Regions from separate parts of the Homo sapiens genome. Here region 2 is linked to region 1. The links are contacts of gene promoters, found by promoter capture Hi-C in human tissues and cell types (Jung and others, 2019). All regions are on one chromosome and are shown on one strand. The core of a region is centred on a gene start or on the middle of the fragment in contact, and the rest is flanking DNA. Distances in the headings are between cores, read along the strand shown. Region 1 holds the start of DNAAF2 (dynein axonemal assembly factor 2). Region 2 has its middle 19 kb from the start of NEMF.

Region 1 (4,083 bases), core at 1,148-3,647:
TTTCATTGTCGTAAGCCTTATGTTAACAGTGTTCCAATATATACTCCCAGGATATGAAAGTGCAATTGCTGGCTGGGCATGGTGGCTTGTGCCTGTAATCCCAGCACTTTGGGAAGCCGAGGTGGGCGGATCACCTGAGCTCAGGAGTTGGAGACCAGCCTGACCAACATGGTGAAATCCCATCTCTACTAAAAAATACAAAAATTAGCTGGGCGCAGTGGTAGGTGCCTGCAATCCCAGCTACTTGGGAGGCTGAGGCAGGAGAATTGTTTGAACCCAGGAGGCGGAGGTTGCAGTGAGCCAAGATCGCGCCAAAGCACCCCAGTCTAGGCGACAGAGCAAGACTCTGTCTCAAAAAAAAAAGCAATGCAACTGCTTCACATCTTTGTTAATTACCTATATAATAAGTGCAATAAGCACACAATAAATATCTGTTGAAAGGACTAATTTGAACACAGATGGCATTTAAAACTATGGGCTTGGATAAGACATCTTGGAAGAAATGTGATTAGGTAAGAGGGCTGATGAACAAAGCCTTGGGCAACTCCCACATTTGCAGAACTGGCAGGAGCATAAAGGAGGAAAATGGGAGAGCTTGGAGTTCTGCAAAACATGAGAAAAATGTGTTTCGAAGGGGCAGTCAACTGCTTTGAATGCTTCCAAGAGACCATAAGATAAGGCAGTGGTTTGGGAAAAGAGGATTCAGGAGTTCTGATCTTGGTCATTTCAAGCCTGAGTAGCTTATGCATTAATCACTCAAATGGACACCTCAAACGTGCAGCTGGATATAGGAGTGTAAAATCTGAGTCTAAGACAAGTATTTGTGAGTGTAAATATATTTCTGAAGGAGAGTATAGATGGGTAAGAGATTGGGTCCCAGTTTTGGGGCATTTCCATGTAGAAGTTGAAAAGAAGTAGATACCTACAGAGCAAAACTATGAGAGTGATGAGACAGAAGAGAAATCTGGAAAGTGTCTTGTCACTGAGGTAATGCCAACATCAACTGTGTTAAATGTTGCTGAGAATAGAAAAATGATCACTGAATTGACCAATTACCAATGAATAAATAATTACTCCAGTAAATAAATATACTTCCATATGATCATTTTGAATGGTTGCACAAAACTCTGTTGCGTGGCTCTACCAAAACCTGCTCAATCAGTTCCATTGTTGAATTTGTAGATTCTTCTCAAACCTTTAGAATCATAAATGATGTCACCTTGAGAATGTTCTAAGAGTATTGTGTCAAATACTCTAAGGGCATTTGGGTCAAAAAAATATGCACATTAGAAAGGTTTTAGGCCGGGCGCGGTGGCTCATGCCTGTAATCCCAGCACTTTGGGAGGCTGAGGTGGGCAGATCACATGAGGTCAAGAGTGGGAGACCAGCCTGGCCAACATGGTGAAATCCCATCCCTACTAAAAATACAAAACTTAGCCGGACGTGGTGGTGAGTCACTGTAATCCCAGCTACCTGGGAGGCTGAGGCAGGGAGAATTGCCTGAACCCGGGAGGCGGAGGTTGCAGTGAGCCAAGACTGCACCACTGCACTCCAGCCTGGGTGACAGAGTGAGACAGCCTCAAAAAAAAAAAAAAAAAAAAAAAGGTTTTGGACCTGGTGTGGTGGCTCATGCCTGTAATCCTATAATCCCAGCACTCTGGGAGGCCGAGGCGGGCGGATCACGAAGTCAGGAGATCGAGACCATCCTGGCTAACACGGTGAAACCCTGTCTCTAGTAAAAATACAAAACATTAGCTGGGCGTAGTGGCAGGCGCCTGTAGTCCCAGCTGCTCGGGAGGCTGAGGCAGGAGAGTGGCGTGAACCTGGGAGGTGGAGCTTGCAGTGAGCCGAAACTGCGCCACTGCACTCCAGCCTGGGTGACAGAGCGAGACTCTGTCTCAAAAAAAGAAAAACAAAACAAAACAAAACAAAGTACGGTGGTGGGTTGGTTTGAAGAATCTAAGAGGGCTATTTCTGGCATTTCCACTATTCCACCATGATTTCCTTGAGAGACTTGCTCTGTCGCCCAGGCCGGAGTGCAGTGGCGCGATCTTGGCTCACCGCAAGAGCTCTGCCTCCTGGGTTTCACCCCATTCTACTGCCTCAGCCTTCCGAGTAGCTGGGACTACAGGCACCCGCCACCATGCCCGGCTAATTTTTTGTATTTTTAGTAGAGACGGGGTTTCACCGTGTTAGCCAGGATGGTCTCGATCTCCTGACCTCGTGATCCGCCCGCCTAGGCTTCCCAAAGTGCTGGGATTACAGGCCTGAGCCACCGCGCCCGGCCTATTCCACCATGATCTCTACCCCTCCTCCCGAATGTTAGTGGTGTAACTATGACAACAAGCACGCGCTGCTCAAGGCTCAATTTTCCAGCCGTTACCGACCTCCACCGCGTCACTGTACGCTGCCCAGAAACTCTGAGGCGGATCCCCCAACCCAGTGTCAGACTGATCGCCTTTGGCCCGAGGGCGAGGAGCCACAGGACAGTATGGCCAAAGCGGCGGCCTCCTCGTCGCTGGAGGACTTGGACCTGAGCGGAGAGGAGGTCCAGCGGCTCACCTCCGCCTTCCAGGACCCGGAGTTCCGGCGAATGTTCTCCCAGTACGCCGAGGAGCTCACCGACCCGGAGAACCGGCGGCGCTACGAGGCGGAGATCACCGCGCTAGAGCGTGAGCGCGGGGTGGAAGTGCGGTTCGTGCACCCGGAGCCCGGCCATGTGCTGCGCACCAGCCTGGACGGGGCGCGGCGCTGCTTTGTGAATGTCTGCAGCAACGCGTTGGTGGGCGCGCCCAGCAGCCGGCCCGGCTCCGGTGGCGACCGGGGCGCAGCTCCTGGCAGCCACTGGTCCCTGCCCTACAGCCTGGCGCCCGGCCGCGAGTACGCGGGGCGCAGCAGCAGCCGCTACATGGTCTACGACGTGGTCTTCCATCCAGACGCGCTTGCGCTGGCCCGGCGGCACGAGGGCTTCCGCCAGATGCTGGACGCCACGGCCCTGGAGGCCGTCGAGAAGCAGTTCGGCGTGAAGCTGGACCGCAGGAATGCCAAGACCCTGAAGGCCAAGTATAAGGGGACCCCAGAGGCTGCGGTGCTGCGCACGCCCCTGCCCGGGGTCATCCCCGCAAGGCCTGACGGGGAGCCGAAGGGTCCTCTCCCGGACTTCCCCTACCCTTACCAGTACCCGGCAGCCCCCGGGCCCCGGGCGCCCTCCCCTCCGGAAGCGGCCTTGCAGCCCGCCCCCACCGAGCCTCGCTACAGCGTGGTGCAGCGCCACCACGTGGACCTCCAGGATTACCGCTGCTCCAGGGACTCAGCCCCGAGCCCCGTGCCCCATGAGCTGGTGATCACCATCGAACTGCCGCTGTTGCGCTCGGCCGAGCAGGCGGCGCTGGAGGTAACGAGAAAGCTGCTGTGCCTCGACTCGAGGAAACCTGACTACCGGCTGCGGCTCTCGCTCCCGTACCCAGTGGACGATGGCCGCGGCAAGGCACAATTCAACAAGGCCCGGCGGCAGCTGGTGGTTACGCTGCCAGTGGTGCTGCCGGCCGCGCGCCGGGAGCCCGCTGTCGCCGTCGCCGCCGCCGCGCCGGAAGAGTCCGCGGACCGGTCCGGAACTGACGGCCAGGCCTGCGCTTCCGCTCGCGAGGGGGAGGCGGGACCCGCGAGGAGTCGCGCGGAGGACGGAGGCCACGATACCTGCGTGGCTGGGGCTGCGGGCTCCGGGGTCACCACCCTGGGCGACCCGGAGGTGGCGCCTCCGCCGGCCGCAGCTGGAGAGGAGCGTGTCCCCAAGCCGGGGGAGCAGGACTTGAGCAGGCACGCGGGGTCACCGCCGGGCAGCGTGGAGGAGCCATCTCCTGGAGGAGAAAACTCACCTGGTGGCGGAGGCTCCCCTTGTTTGTCCTCCCGGAGCCTGGCGTGGGGTTCTTCTGCGGGAAGAGAGAGTGCGCGCGGAGATAGCAGTGTGGAAACACGCGAGGAGTCGGAGGGCACGGGCGGCCAGCGCTCAGCCTGCGCCATGGGTGGTCCCGGGACCAAGAGCGGGGAGCCTTTGTGTCCTCCGTTACTGTGTAATCAGGACAA
Region 2 (3,592 bases), core at 542-3,041, 240 kb before region 1:
GAAATCTGAAAACACAAACCTCCCACAATAATTAACTGTATTTCAGCCAGGCATGGTGACTCACGCCTATATCCCAGCACTTTGAGAGGCCGAGGTGGGTGGATCATGAGGTCAGGCATTCGAGACCAGCCTGGCCAACATAGTGAAACCCTGTCTCTACTAAAAATACAAAAAATTAGCCGGGTCTGGTGGCAGGCACCTGTAATCCCAGCTACTCAGGAGGCTGAGGCAGGAGAATCACTTGAACCTGGGAGGCCGAGGTTGCAGTGAGCCGATATTGTACCACTGCACTCCAGCCTGGGGGACAGAGTGAGACTACGTCTCAAAAAAACAAATAATAATAATAATAATCAACTGTATTTTATATACTGGCAATAAACACATGGACACTAAAATTTTAAATACAATATTTGTATTCACTCAAAAAATTGAAATATACAGAATGTATATATCAAAAACTACAAAACACAAAAGAAATAAAATAATATCCAAACATATGGGAAGATACATTATGTTCATGGATTGGAAGATTCAGCATGGTAAAAAAATGTCAATTTCCTCCAGGTTTAGTGCAATTCCTATCAGAATCCTAGCAAGATTTATTTTGTAGATATAGACAAGATTATTCTAAAATTTATATGGAAATGCAAAGGAACTAAAATAGCTAAAACAATTTTCAAAAAGAAAAGTGGGACGAATCAGTCTACCCAATTTTAATATTTATCACATAGCTAGTAATCAAGACTTTGTCATCTTGATGGAGGGATAAGCAGATCAGTGACACACAACAGAGAACCCAGAAATGAACCCACACAGATATGCCCAACTGTTAAAATGTATGTAACATAAAATTTGCCATTTTAACCAATTTCTTTTTTCTTTTTTGTTTTTCTTTCTTTTCTTTTCTTTTTTTCTTTTTTCTTTTTTTTTTTTGAGACGGAGTCTTGCTCTGTCGCCCAGGCTGGAGTGCATTGGCATGATCTCAGCTCTCTGCAAGCTCCGCCTCCCGGGTTCATGCCATTCTCCTGCCTCAGCCTCCCAAGTAACTGGGACTACAGGTACCCACCACCAGGCCTGGCTAATTTTTTGTATTTTTAGTAGAGACAGGGTTGTTTCACCATGTTAGCCAGGATGGTCTCTATCTTCTGACCTTGTGATCCGCCCGCTTCGGCCTCCCAAAGTGCTGGCATTACAGGCGTGAGCCACCTCGCCCGGCCAACCATTTCAAGTGTATAATTCAGGAGCATCAATTACGCTCACAATATTGTACATCCATCACTACTATTTCCAAAACTTTTTCAACACCTCAAACAGAAATTCTATACCCATTAAGTAATAACTCCAGCCTGGGAAACATGGTGAAACACCATCTCTATAAAAAAAAAATGCAAAAAGTAGCCAGGTGTGGTGGTGCACACCTGTAGCCCCAGCTACCTTGGAGGCTGGAGGTGGGAGGATCACCTGAGCCAGGGGAGTTCAATGCTGCAGTGAGCCACTTCCCTCCAGCCTGGGTGACAGAGTAGGACCCTGTCTCAAAAAAATGAAAAGTAAGATAAGATAAAAATTCCTAATTCCCTACCCTAATTCCCAACCTCTGTCTACTTTCTATCTCTACATATTTGCCTATTCTACAGATTTCACACAAATGGATTTATTTGTCCTTCAGTGTCTGGCTTATTTCACTTTACATGTTTTCAAGGCTCATTTATGTTGTAGCATGCGTCAGAACCTTATTCCTTTTTATGGCTGAATATGAATATGCATCACATTTTGTTTACTTATTCATCTGTTGATGGACAGTTGAGTTGTTTCCACCTTTTGACTATTGTGAATAGTGCTGTGACAAACATTAATGCGAGTATCTCTTTGAGTACCTGCTTTTGGTTCTTTGTGGGGTCTGTACCTAGGAGTGGAATCACTCAATCATATGGTGATTGTATGTTTACATTTTTGAGGAACTGTCAAACTGTTTTTCACAGCAGCTGCACTATTTTACATTCCCGCTGGCAATGTATGAGAGTTCTAATTTCTCCACATCCTTGCCAACACTTGTTATTCTTTTCTTTGTTGTTTTTGTTTGTTTCATTGTTTTCAGATGAGGTCTTGCTATGTTGCCCAGGCCGGCCTGGAACTCCTCGGCTCAACAGATCCTCCCATCTCAGCCTCCTGAGTAGCTGGGACTACAGACATGCACCACCTGCCCAGTTCAACACTTGTTATTTTCTGTTTTGCTGTTGTTATTTTCGTGATCCTAGTAGGTAAGAAATTGTATCTCTTGTGGTTTTGATTGCATTTCCCCAATGACTAATGATGTAGAGTTAATGAATGAATGAATGAATGCACAAAGGGACCTACTATTTTAATAAATCTTATGCTCAAAAGGGGATAAATCACTCTTCTAGTTTATATTATTATTATAATGTACAAGAACATTAATATTTGTTTTTATAATGATAAATCATAATAGCATTTGTATATAATGGTTTTGATTATACAAATACTCTTGTAATATGCAATATTGTTTATCCATACATCACAGTGACTATAGACTGTCTCTTTTAACAATATTCTAACTAATGTGTAGTGGTTTTGCCTTTATTTGTTTCTTGCCACACCCTAGGCTATACTCCCCCTTGGAAAATGAGCTGTGTCACAAAATGAATTAGAACCTTGTCAGCAAGGGGTTTCAGCTGAACAGACACAGGCAGCTTGTGCCTTCAGTATTCTCTGTATAAATTGGACTGCTTTTCCAGTTCATTAGCCCTAAAAGCAAACACTGAGAAAAGTGTGAATTCCTTTGGTCATAAAATATACATATAGGCCGGGCGCGGTGGCTCACACGTGTAATCCCAGCACTTTGAAAGGCCTAGGCGGATGGATCACCTGAGGTTGGGAGTTCGAGACTAGCCTGACCAACATGGAGAAACCCTGTCTCTACTAAAAATACAAAAAAAAAAAAAAAAATTAGCTGGGTGTGGTGGTACATGCCTGTAATCCCACCTACTTAGGAGGCTGAGGCAGAAGAATCACTTGAACCCAGGAGGTGGAGGTTGAGTTGAGCCAAGATCACACCACTGCACTCCAGCCTGGGCAAAAAGAGTGAAACTCTATCTCAAAAAAGAAATGTATCATACACATAAACTGCCTGGTCACGGTGCCTCACGCCTGTAATCCCAGCACTTTGGGAGGCCGAGGCAGGCGGTTCACTTCAGGTTAGGAGTTTGAGACCAGCCTGGCCAACATAGCGAAACCCCGTCTCTACTGACAAAAAAAAAAAAAAAAATTAGCCAGGCGTAGTGGTGCACGTCTGTAATCCCAGCTACTCGGGAGGCTGAGGCAGGAGAATCGCTTGAACCCAGGAGGCAGAGATTGCAGTGAGCCGAGATCGTGCCACGGCACTCCAGCCTGGGCAACAGAGTGAGACTCCATCTCAGGAAAAAAAAAATCATACACATAAACCATAGTGTAACAGAATATATTTTTAATTATTAACAATGTGAATTGTGATGACATACTGTATGTGTAATGTATCCCCTAGCAAGTACCTATGGTGCTATTTGTTCAACCACCACATCATAAACTCTCAACAAAG

Evidence for each region. Contacts are between HindIII fragments. The study calls those that stand out against the background at their distance.
Region 2: a contact is called between a fragment that was not itself captured here and the fragment with the promoter of DNAAF2 in region 1, in 1 of the 25 tissues and cell types used here (hippocampus).

Annotation. Positions count from the first base shown.
Region 1 is chr14:49,633,558-49,637,640 of GRCh38, reverse strand. It overlaps DNAAF2 (dynein axonemal assembly factor 2), which reads left to right and starts at 2,397. Exons shown (of 3, transcript NM_018139.3): 1 at 2,397-4,083. The coding sequence starts at 2,492. RefSeq lists silencers at 2,776-2,825, 3,056-3,295, 3,566-3,835 and enhancers at 2,753-3,513, 3,326-3,565. The HindIII fragment of the contact is 16,157 bases long and covers 1-4,083 here.
Region 2 is chr14:49,870,227-49,873,818 of GRCh38, reverse strand. No RefSeq gene overlaps it. Among named protein-coding and RNA genes, the nearest start is that of NEMF, 19 kb to the right of the region's middle. The HindIII fragment of the contact is 9,165 bases long and covers 1-3,592 here.